Regions from separate parts of the Homo sapiens genome. Here regions 2 and 3 are each linked to region 1. Evidence: promoter capture Hi-C in 16 types of primary human blood cells and fetal thymus (Javierre and others, 2016). All regions are on one chromosome and are shown on one strand. Each heading gives the region's core, a stretch centred on a gene start or on the middle of the fragment in contact. The rest is flanking DNA. Distances are from core to core; before and after follow the strand shown.

What was found. Contacts are between HindIII fragments. The CHiCAGO score rates a contact against its expected background, and 5 or more counts as called.
Region 2: a fragment that was not itself captured here is called in contact with the fragment with the promoter of PSMG1 in region 1 in 1 of 17 cell types (fetal thymus); the score reaches 6.3 in fetal thymus.
Region 3: a fragment that was not itself captured here is called in contact with the fragment with the promoter of PSMG1 in region 1 in 2 of 17 cell types (total B cells and fetal thymus); the score reaches 7.7 in total B cells.

Annotation. Positions count from the first base shown.
Region 1 is chr21:39,182,058-39,186,052 of GRCh38, forward strand. It overlaps PSMG1 (proteasome assembly chaperone 1), which reads right to left and starts at 1,394. Exons shown (of 7, transcript NM_003720.4): 1 at 1,195-1,394. The coding sequence starts at 1,328. It overlaps BRWD1 (bromodomain and WD repeat domain containing 1), which reads right to left. Exons shown (of 41, transcript NM_033656.4): 41 at 3,425-3,995. RefSeq lists silencers at 1,070-1,149, 1,350-1,569. The HindIII fragment of the contact is 4,125 bases long and covers 1-3,206 here.
Region 2 is chr21:37,254,226-37,258,220 of GRCh38, forward strand. The region is part of intron 1 of VPS26C (VPS26 endosomal protein sorting factor C); the gene reads right to left. Among named protein-coding and RNA genes, the nearest start is that of VPS26C, 11 kb to the right of the region's middle. RefSeq lists enhancers at 3,064-3,163, 3,249-3,841, 3,574-3,853, 3,842-3,995. The HindIII fragment of the contact is 2,309 bases long and covers 944-3,252 here.
Region 3 is chr21:37,363,030-37,367,024 of GRCh38, forward strand. It overlaps DYRK1A (dual specificity tyrosine phosphorylation regulated kinase 1A), which reads left to right and starts at 3,744. Exons shown (of 12, transcript NM_001347721.2): 1 at 3,744-3,995. RefSeq lists enhancers at 2,280-3,205, 2,737-2,816 and silencers at 2,957-3,136, 3,167-3,476. The HindIII fragment of the contact is 571 bases long and covers 1,819-2,389 here.

The DNA.
Region 1 (3,995 bases), core at 144-2,643:
ATACGTGTTTACGGAGAACTCTAAAATAGTGATCAGGCTGTCCACCTGACCCAAGAACCAATCTTAGCATCCCTAAAAGTGAGACAGCTGGGGATAGCCTGCAATAAGAAACAGAAAGCACCACTTAGTAGAAGCATTCTTGCCGACAAAACTTTGAATGAGAATCTGACCAAGCCTCCAAATGAACATTCATTTTACAGGACATGCAGGTGATACAAACGTTAAGTGACACCACAACGAAGCTATCAGACAAATTCAGAGTGTGGGGGCACTGGACAAGACAATCAGTCCTGTCTCTTAGGAGGGGTAAGAGGAGGTTGCTCTAAATGAAGTGACACGTCTAAATGTAACCTGTGGACCCTGTTAGGATTCTCATTCACGCAGACCACTGTAAAATGTCATGTTTGAAAAAACTAGGTAAACGTGAGTGAGCATGGACTACAAAATGATACTGGAAAATTAGTATTAGTGTTGTTAGGGGTGATAATAGCATATGTAAGAAAATCCCTAAAACGTTTGAGATGTATTCTGAAAAATGTAGAGGTGAAAGGCCATGATGACTGGAATTCGCTTAGGAGTGGCGGGAGAGAAAATAAACGTGGCAAAATCTTCCTGTTGAATTTACCCGGTTGTGTAGGGGTCAGGGCTCACTTGACTATTTTCTCCCACTTTTTTGTGTTTGGAAACAATTTTTTTAAAGCGTGTTCATCGGCTACTGACACATCATGCTAATTGAAGTGTTGGGTGCAGGTTTAAAAAGTTTCGAGGGAATTGGTGTGTCCGTGAACAATCCACGACAAACGTGGTGGGGCCCGCGGGAGCGCTGCGGCCCAAGACAGTGTGACAAGCGGGAAGATCACGAGTCCGCAAGACACCAAGCCTCCAGAAATGCTCCAGAAACGCTCCAGAAAGCCTTTAAAGAACGGATTTGAACCCAGCCCTCCCACAGCGGCTTCACCCTGGACTCCACGAAACGCCAGCAGATCCACGCGAGAACCACACACACCTGGGGCTGGCGCCGCTGGACGCCGCGGCTTCACGGAGACCCAGGGCCCAAGCAGAGCCAAGGAGCGGCGGCAACCGCGGGGGCCACTCGGAAGACCGCGGAGCCCCGGCCTTAGGCGCCGTCGCGGCTGCCAGGCCCGCGCACCTTCCAGCTGCGGTGAGCGCGCTGCCCTTATCCCGGTGCCTCACCTCTTCCGCGCCAGCTGCAGACGCACCTCCCTGTCCTCGGGCGTCTCCCTCCGCCCCTCCTCCTCCTCCTCTTCGTCCTCAGTCCCAGCTCGGCACGGCGCCTTCACCACCTCTCCGAAGAACGTGGCCGCCATAGCCGCCCCGTGACCGGCTGGACACAACTGCAGCGCCGCGGGACCGCACGCCGGCTTGCGCGAGACCACGCTCCCTCACCGCGCGGGCAATAAGTCCCGCCCCGCACAGGCCACGCCCTCCGCGCACAGCCCAAGCTCGCGGCCACACCCCCACCGCGCGGGCGCTACGTCCCGCCCCGCACAGGGCTCGCTCCCAGGCACACCCTGAGCTCGCGGCCACGCCCTCTACACCGCCCGCCCGCGCTGTCATGCCCTGGGCCAGCAGTCCCCGCAGCTTTTTTGTTTTTAAATTACAGATTGGGGGAGGGGGTCTCGCTATGTTGCCCAGACTGGTCTCGAACTCCAGGACTCTAGCGATCGTCCTCCTTAGACCTCCCAAAGTGCTTGGATTACAGGCCTCAGCCACCGCGTCCGGCCCCCAAAGGCTTTCATTCGCAGCTTGAGCCCTGCGGGCGCCAGGAGGTGGGAGGACTGCGGGCTAGAGGGGCAGGGGGCGAGAGGAGGGCGGGGCCTCCGTTCGTGGCGGTAGCGGAACCAGGGGTGCAGGGGCGGAGCCAGCGCCGCTGGCCGTGGCGTCCGGGAGCTGTGGGGCCGTCCCCTCATCGTCCGTTTCCATTTTCCTTCTGCGTTAGGAGAGACTGGGGTAGCATTAGTGTACTGAGCACCCGCTCCAAATTTCGACTGCCCAGGTAGGTGGCGGCGCGGTGGTACTGAGGGCCCCCGTAGCCAGGCGCGCCCTCAGACAGCGGGCACGGGCGGACGCAAGGGCAGCAAGAAATACAGCGCTTCGTGGTGGTATAAAAACGAGACCTTTACTCTGGCAATAGGAATTCACATTTCAAAAGCTGATGATTGTCAAGGCGATTTAAAAAACATTTTTATGAGTGTAAAAAATAGTGTTTTAAAGTTGGCCATTTTCTAATACAAAATGTTTCTTTTTAAATAGCCTTTAATAAGCAGAATGTGTGATTGTTCTTTAATTGGTTCTCTTTAAAATGTGCTGGAAGACAAAGTTCGAGGAGCACTGTTTCAAGCAAGAGAAAAAGGGGACATAATTTAAATGAAAATGAAAATATGCAGTAATGCAATGAAAAAACCGTTTCCTAGATTTAGTTGTACCGAAATACATGACATCGCCTGCATTTTGTGACTTTGTCAGTAGTCACGAAGGTAAGTACTACTTTGGGGTCAGAGAGAGCCTGTTGAGATAAAATCTCAAAGCTGTTAGAAACATTTTAAGATGTGGAAAGATAATCAACAAAATCATTTACATAAAATTAGTACTTAGCAGATGTACACATCTGCAAAAATAAAGTGAGTTTGGAAGCAAAATTTGAACATTTAGCAATAAAATTAAGACGAAATTGCTAGCCAGTAAGAGCTTAGGAAACTGGATATCCTTAGTGAGATAGAATAAACAAGATCACCACAATGATGTTTTAAAACATTAGGACTCCTGGGTTAACTGGTCTATTATGATGATGGAACTGCAGAATAAAAAGGTTGTTTGGGCACCACTTGTCTTAGTCCTTTTGTTAATTTGTCATTTTTACCAGTAAGATCTTCAATTTGATTTCACAGTTCCATGATGAAGAAATATTTTCTGCAAAGCAAATTACTGTAAATAGGGTAATAGTAATACATTTGGCCATGATTTAAATTCTGCACACATTTCAGAGAGAACAATTTTACAATGTTAAGTTTTAAGCAAATGCTTATTTCATGCAGTTACAATAAGTTTAGGCCAAGCACTTTTTAAAAAGGCAAATATGTTCGAATTAAATACTTAGCCAAAAAAGGATTTCATTATGCAAGACTGATAATACAATCTCAAATACTGACAGAAATTAACCCCACCACAGCAAATTATAAATTCAAAGCTTAAATTCTTTCATTACACTGAAATTGCTAAAAAAAAAAAAAAAAAAAAAAAAAAACTTTGCATAAAATAGTCTTCACCGAGTTAAGTATTTCATTTTATAGTTACTTGTTGAGGACATAATATACTCAATAAATATTATAAATTAAGTGTAAAATTTGAACTGGAAAGAAGTTTAAGCATTTCATTAGAGCTCAAAAATCAAACCCCATGCACCTAAAAGTAATAGCAGTTTATTAGGAATTCTTCCCTTTCTCACCTGTGTATCAACATATTGGGGATCAGTAATTTAGATGAAAGTATACTACAAAAGGAGCAAAGGACACAGACTTAGTAGGTTAGAATATTCTGGCTTATGCTAAAAAACAAAAAGCCTTTTTTTTAAAACAGACATGCAACCACAAATTTCTCAAGTATTTTAGACACTTGGTTCATCTGTATAACAAAAAAAAAAAAATGCATTTGACTTAAAAAAGAAATAGAAAACCCTAGGTTTCTGTAGTTTAGTTTTTCAGATTTACACATGCAAATCATATATTCAGATATTTTTAAATGGGAAAACAACTTACTTTCAACAACTTAATTTTTCCAGTAACACGTTACTATGTTAAAAAGATGCGACAGTATATTCATTTAATCTGGCAATTTTAATTTCAACAAATACATATTAACAACAAATTAAATCCTATTGTAAATACACTTCTTTGTTATACCACGACCAAATTTTCTAATCCTAGTACAGGCCACAATGAAATAGGCCAAACATGCTACCATTAAAGTTTGTTGGG
Region 2 (3,995 bases), core at 848-3,347, 1.9 Mb before region 1:
CGATAGTGCAGCATTCAAATCCAAGCCAGGATGCAGGCAAACTTCAGAGTAGAGGACAAGAGATGAGTCTAGCAGCAAATGAGGCTAACAGCCTAAAGGGCCCTTGTTAGAAAGCAAGAGCACGGTTAGGTGGGGTGGCTCGCACTGTAATCCCAACCCACTTTGGGAGGCTAGGATGGGAGGATCACCTGAAACCAGGAGTTTAAGGCTGCAGTGAGCTATGATTGTGCCACTGTGCTCCAGCCTGCGTAACAGTGCAAGACCCCATCTCTAAAACAAGTAAGTAAAGAAAGAAAGAGCTCAGGCTGGGTGCGGTGGCTCACGCCTGTAATCCCAGCACTTTGGGAGGCTGGGGCAGGGGAATCACCTAAGGTCACAAGTTCAAGACCAGCCTGGCCAGCATGATGAAACCCCATCTCTACTAAAAATACAAAAAATAGCCAGGCATGGTGGCGGGCACCTGTAATCCCAGCTACTTGGGAGGCTGCGGCAGGAGAATTGCTTGAACCAGGAGGCAGAGGCTGCAGTGAGCTGAGACATTGCATTCTGCCTGGGTGACAAGAGCAAAACTCTGTCTAGAAAAAAAAAATAAATAAAAGAAAAGAAAAAAAGAGCTCAGCAAAAAGAGCACTGTAGGGTAGATCACGTGTTAATTAAGCAGTACGGAACAGGGTCTCTGCTTCAGGTTAATCCAGGGTAGGCTCTGGGGACAGATCACCTAAGGCTGCTCTATGAAACTACTGTGAGATGCAGAGAATGTCATGTGGTTAATTCTGGGCACTGTTCATGGGGCAGCAGAGGAGAAGGGGCAGAAGACATTCTTTTGTATTAGTTGCATTTTCTTAGCAAGTAAAAATATATATTTTCAATTTACAAAATGGTTTTTTAAAATCTGAAACACACGGTCAAACTATCATGACTGTATTTTTTTTAGATTAGAAAAAGCTTAGTTTTTTTCCTGATGATTACTGAAGAATGGGATTTCTGCCCATCGGTTCCTAATTTTCCATTGACAGGACTGCTTGCTGCTCCTTTCCCAAAGGTGAAGATTTGGGTTTTAGAGAAATTGTCTTAAATAATTCTTTCTGATAAAACAAAGGAAGAGCTAATTTTGGGCTGAAATCATGCCTGGCATGTGACAGTAAAACCATAAACGTAAATAAGACACTGTCATGGGGGAACGGTAGTGAGGATGAAGGGACCGCGACCATCACTGGAAAGCATGTGAGCCAATGCTACTGGCCACCAGAGACCTGCCCAACGGATCAGAGCACACACAGCAGGTGTAACCCTCACAGCTACCCAGAGGTCAATTCTGTCTGAGCATCAGTAATCCAGGGTCAGGACAGCTTGTTCCTATCAGAAGCAAAAGGGCCACAATCTCATGTTGTCCTTCCCAGCTCAAGTTCCCAGGACAAGTAAGTAGGACAACAGTGAAGGTCTCCAGAGCCCACCAGCTTTTGCTGAGACTGCTAGTCCAAGAGCCCCAGCTGAGTAAATTCTCCAGGAGGAAAATGGCAGAAACTATCAAAGGATAGTCAGTAAACTGGTGGGTCTGTACCTTTTTGGCTTAAATGCTCCAGTAAATAAAGGCAAAATATTTAAAGCCTCATTCTATGCACTGCATTTTTTTTTTTTTTTTTTTTTAGATAGAGGCTGGAGTGCAGTGGTGCAATCTCAGCTCACTATAACCTCCGCCTCCCAGGTTCAAGTGATTCTCCTGCCTCAGCCTCCTGAGTAGCTGGGATTACAGGTGCCCGCCACCACACTAGGCTAATTTTTGTATTTTTAGTAGAGACAGGGTTTCTTCATGTTGTTCAGGATGGTCTTGAACTCCTGACCTCAGGTGATCTGCCTGCCTCGGCCTCCCAAAGTGCTGGGATTACAGGCATGAGCCACCGTGCCCGGCCCTAGGCACTGTATTATATCTGAAAGCTAACAGAACTTGTAAGTTTTGACACAGGACCAAATTAAATGGGTTGGCATGAAAAAACTTCAACTTTGTTGCCTCTTGCTAGTCACAACATCCTATAACTAATACTTTACAAGAGAACCACTGGCCGTAGGCCTGTGAAGACACCTCAGCAGCCACTTTGGGATGTGAGGAAGAGTCAGGGAAGGGAGGGAGGAAATAGATATTCTCACTTAAAGTAGAACAGCTCTGCTTTTATCTGTTTATAAAATAAAGTATTTTAATATGTATTATTAAAATTGACATTAGAATTTTATATAAGACTTCATTTAATAAAAGGGTTTCATTGCTTTTTTGGAAAATCTTTATGCTAAACGATGTTCATTTTATTGACTTATTTATAAGGAAACAACCATTTGTAACTTACCAGATGAAAGGTAAAATCTATTTTCTATCACCTTGGAAAGGCACTATTTCTCTGAGCCTGGATTTGTTTTCTGCCAACAAGTGACGGCACAAGCTCTCTATTACAGAGAGTAAAAAGCCCAGGCAGTCTTTTTCATGGCTGCTCACCATGTAAACATGTCCATAAAGTGTTCTGTGTAGCTAAGTTAGAGGACAAGAAGAAGTACTTTACAAAAATTACATCTTTACATATTTGCGTTTGTATGACATACTTTTTTCTTTTATTCCTGATAATAAAGTTTTACCATTTTATAATTTAAAAATGTAAATATGGAGTTGGGCATGGTGGTTGGGAGGCTGAGACCAGAAGATCGCTTGAGCCCAGGGGTTTGAGACCAGCCTGGGCAACATGCAGAAACCCTGTCTCTACAAATAAAAAATTAGCCAAGCGTGGTAGCACGCACCTGTAATCCCAGCTACTCGGGAGGCTGAGGCAGGAGAATCGCTTGAGCCTGGGAGGTGGAGGCTGCAGTGAGCTGAGACTGTACCACTGCACTCCAGCCTGGGTGACAGAGTGAGGCTCTGTCTCAAAAAAACAAAACACAAAAAAACAAACAAAAAAAAGCAAATATATGTAAAAATAGGAAGTGCGGTTTCCCAAAATGAGGTCTGTAAACAACTGATCTAGAAAATGTTCTGGAAAAAGTAAAAAAGGATCAGGATCTGAGGTCAACTGACCTCTCCCTGCGCTCTGGACAGGCAAACAGGCAAGGTTCCCTCTGAGGCCGTAGCGGCTTCTCGTGGGCGAGTCCCTGTTCGCAGGTGACGTGTGGACCACGCTCTTCCGAAGCGTCTGGCCTGTGTGCTCTCGGGGAGGGGACGCAGGTCAGCCCACCTAGCCGATGGCTAACAAGTCAGTTTGTTTTCTGAACGGAAGCTTAAACCTAGAAAAGTAACTGGGTTGGGGTGGGGGTGTAGCCACATGCAGTAAAAGCACTGCCTGTCTGTATAACAACGACCTGATGAAAAAAGGAACGCGTGAAATGGGGAGTGTTAGGGCGTCACAAACTCCAGTGTGGTTGAAATGAAAGCAGAAAGCAAATGGCAAGCTGGCTTCCCCTTCCAGCTTTTCACAACCCTGCCTTGCTCATGGTCAGCCCCAAGCACGGGCGGAAGAAAGGACTGGAGGGGAGGGAAAGGGGTGGGGAGCGAGGGTACCAGAGGCGTGGGAGGACGGGGACAAAGGGGCAGCAAGGGACCGGCGGAAAGGAAAGTCGGCGTTAGCTGGATTGGAAACAGTCCAGACAGAACGATGGGCTCTGCTGCCTCCGGGTGGGGCACCAAGCGGGGAGCGGGGCCACGAGGCAGGGGACAGTGAAGCACCATGCAGCGCCCACCAGCCGGCAGCGCCCACCAGCCTGCGCTGCGCTGCACATGGTACCCGCGGCCCCAGCTGGCCAGTGTGTGGCGGAGATGAGACCCTCGTGAAGAGACTAAGCGGCCACAGCAGGGGGAAGGGTTGCTCACATAACCCCATACTGCTCACACTACGAGGTTAACTGCCGTGAGATCTGCCTGCAGCCAGCAGAAACCCGTTCTAGGAAAACGTTGCCCAGTGACTTCAGTGAGTGCCACTGACCCGGGCGCCTCCGCCCCGGCGTCCGGCAGCAGCACCGAT
Region 3 (3,995 bases), core at 854-3,353, 1.8 Mb before region 1:
CCTGTAATCCCAGCACTTTGGGAGGTCGAGGTGGGCAGATCAATTGAGGCCAGGGGTTCGAGGTCAGCCTGGCCAATGTGGTGAAACCTTTTCTCTACTAAAAATACAAAAATTTGCCAGGTGTGGTGGCGGGCACCTGTAATCCCAGATACTCAGGAGGTTGAGGCAGGAGAATCGCTTGAACTGGGGAGGTGGAGGTTGCAGTGAGCCGAGATCACACCCCTGCACTCCAGCCTGGGTGACAGAGCGAGACTCTGTCTCAAAAAAAAAAAAAAAGAAAGAACGAACGAACAATAAAGTTTGTACAAGGGCAGCAAGTGAAGACTTTTACCCAGAAGTCTGTAAGAACAGTAGGGGTGTCAGATGCCACGCCATGCCACTGTCTAGGGACCAAATGCAAATTGTTCACCTTCTCGCTTGGCGTGAGGAGCATTGATAGGAATACTGGTTTGCTTGTTTGTCCTTGGAATATTTATTTGGGTTATAACTCTCAGCGAGATTCCAACTACTGGACTTTCAGGCTTAGAATAGTGCCTCACCAGGAGTGGTCACTAACGGATATGAAGCCAACCAAAAGAAACCACCATCTTGGCACGCATCTGTGTGTTAGTTTCCCTTAGTGCCACTACAAAGTACAAACAACTAGGTGGCTTAAACAACAGAAATGTACTGTCTTGAATTTCTGGAGGCCAGAAGTCCAAAATCAAGATGTTGGCAGGGTTGGTTCCCTCTGATGGCCGTAAGACAAAATCTGTTCCATGCTTCTTTGTCAGCTTCTGGTAGCCTCAGGTGTGCCTTGGTTTGTAGATGGCCACCTTCTCCTGGTGTCTGTACGTTCTTCCCTGTGTTCGTTTGTCTTGGTCCAAATTTCTCCTTTTTATAAGGGCAGCAGTCATTTTGGATTAGGGTTCAATCTAGAGACCCAACTCGATTACCTCTGTGAAGACTCTAACTCCATATAATCTTGAATCATCTTGGTGTGGTAGAAAGAACATGGGCTTTGCAATTATACCTGTGTTTGAATCCTGGCTTCACCACTTACTGGTGAGTGGTGACTGCCTTGAGAAAGTCATGTAATCACTCAGGACTTGTTTTCTCATCCACATAATGGGGATGTAATGTTGCTGTGAGGATTAGAGATACTCTAGAACATGCTGGGTAAGTGGAGGCTGTTACTACCTATGAGCTGAGGGCCTTTGCTTTTCAAGGTGAACAGTCTATGAATAAACACATCTGTAAGTGAATCTAATGGGAAGATTCTTAGATGACAAGGATTTCATCTGTGAACCAGGTCAGCTGGCATCTATACCAGAGTCCTTCCGGCCTACATGTGGTCACTTGTTTGGAGCCAGCTGTAATTCACAGGTTACGTTTTTAGGTGAAGCCTGTATAAAACCATTTTACAGCATTCCAACCTGGATATGACATTCATTGACCAATGTTGTCTAAGGCTGTCACACTGGGGAGAAAAGGGGTGCAGCCTTCTAGATACGAAGACCAGCAATGCCTTCTATACCCGCATGTTTATAATCTCAAGATTCTGCCCCACTCCGATATCTTCTAGGTTGATTTGAACTGAAGACAAGGACACATATCTTGAGACATTATCATATTCTGTTCAGGTTACCTGGAAGATTAACTATACAAGTTTCTTCCATTACCAGGAATAAAAATTTGAGTCAAATTTAATTTAGTATTAAAGGTTGCAAATGCTGATGTGCTCTGATAGAAGCGAAAGCTTGGTGAATGGGGTGGGATGGGGTGGGGGCAGGAAGGAGACCCACAAGCAGAGAGGAAGAAGTTGGTTGTATAGGTGGAAGCTTGAGCTTGGGAGGAACCAGGTAGGGACCTCTCCTCTGAATAAGGGGCGCTCTGGGCCACTTCCTCTTTCTTCAAAACAATTAAGTTGACCGTGGACCTTAATCACACTAGCAGGGCAATTTTGAAACAATAATCCGAAAGAACTTTTGCCAGCTACGGCAACTTTTTTATATCATGGAGATCAGCCTGAAAGCAAGCTATTTGCCCGACCACTTTTTGACCAATTTATTTTCGGTTTAGTCAGGTTTCTTCCAAGTCTGTGCTAATCTGAATGGTTACCTTAGTAATTACTTTTTGACTAATTTATTTTCGGTTTAGTCGGATTTCTTTCAAAGTCTGTGCTAATCTGAATGGTTACCTTAGTATATCAATGTCCTAGTAACTGTAGCAAGGACATTTTTGCTGGAAATCATTTAAAGCAGGTGTATTTGAGTCATGTAGCATAGACAGCGGCATTTACTGCGAGTTTTTTACATCTAATATTGTTTATAAGATTTTATCTGTTGTCACATTTGTGAAATTTATGAAAAAAATTGGTTACGAACACTATCACAAGGTGGCAAAATCAAGCTTAGAAATCAATTAGTGACTCTGCTGTAAAATAGTATATATATACACACACACTCTTTTTAGGTATACATTTATTAAATGCCATTAGAGTTGGTACAAAATACAATTTTTAGCTGGTGGCTCTCTACCGATTACAACGCAGCCAGCACAGCATACTTGGGTTTTCAAGCCTCGGGAGCTCACCCAGCAATACATAGCTAGGGAGAAGGGGTAGGGAGAATAAAAATCAGCGAAAGCCAGGATATTAATAAAGAGTTTTGATGGTTAAGGACAAGCAGGCGAATTAAGACTCTGGAAACCGAGAAGGTGTATAGAAAAGAAAACCAGAGAGCTGGACGACAAGGACACAGTAACAGCACAAGGGGATTCATCTAAAGGGCATTCCGATGGAGCAGGCAGGCTGCGCCCCGAAAGGTGGGGAGAGGTTGGAAGCAGATGGGCAGGCACAGGCGAGCGTGCACTGCCTGAAAAAGTTTTCATGATGGCTCCAGCCTAATTTCCCAACGCTGGTCTCGGGCGCCACAAAACCTGGGCGGCCCGACCGGAGCCAGGTGCCAGCCTCAGGGCCGCCGGGCCCGGCGCAGCGTCCGGAATTCCTGCGATGTCTGGGGCGCGGCGGTGGCTCCTCCCCGCCCCCACCACGGCCTCCGCCGGCATTTTCCGGCTAGGAGGCCCGCCAGCCCTTCGAAGAACCGGCTCCACGCGCGGACGGTCGCGGCCGCCGCGCTTCCCGGGGAGAGAGGCGAGCGCGGCGCCCGGACCGCGGTGAGAGCCCTCCAGGCCCGGGCGCGCGGGGTGGGCTTCCCGGGTCCCCGCCCGAAGGCCGCGGCGCCCCTCCTCCTCCCCCTCCCCCGCCCGGGGCAGCCCGCCCCTCCCCCCGGCGCGGGCGGGGCTGCGGGCGCCGACGCGGAAGCGCGGGGCGCTAGGGCTGCGGGGGCGGCGGCGCGGGAGGCCGCGCGCGCTCCCCGGGCCGCAGTCGGCGCGGGCGCGGGGCGGGGCGGGGCGGCCGGGAGGCGGCGGGCGATCGCGCACAGGCCTGGCCGCCGCCTCGCCCCCCCTTCCCCAGCCCCTACCCTCCCTCGGCCTAGCCGTCCCCCTCCTCTCCCCTCCCCCGGGCGAATCACGCGCCCTCCTCTGACACTCGTAGCGGACCCGAGCTCCGAATTTATCCTTCACGTGACCTGAGGGGGTTGGGTGGTTGGCTGGGGACAGAGGGGGAGACGGAAAGGAGGGAACGGAATCTGCCGTTACCTGAGCAACAGGCCCCGCCCGCCGGCTCGGGGCTGGGGGGCGGGAGGAGGACGTCAGCACGTCAGCCGGGGTTTTGCGTTTTGATTGACAGTTGCTATAGCGACCGGGTCGGTCCGTCGCCATTTTGTTGGTTGGTTTTTTTTTAAACCCTTTCGCTTCCCGCCCGAATAATAATAAAAAGCCCCATTGGAGTGAGGCGGGGGTGGCGGCGGCAACCGCGGCGGGGGTATCCGGGGAGACTGCTGCTGTCGCTGCTGCTGATCGCGGCCCAGGTCGGCCTCAGAGAGCGGACACCCCGAGCGGGGGGTGCGGGCGCCGCCGCCGCCGCTTCTGCTGCTGCTGTTCCTGCTGCT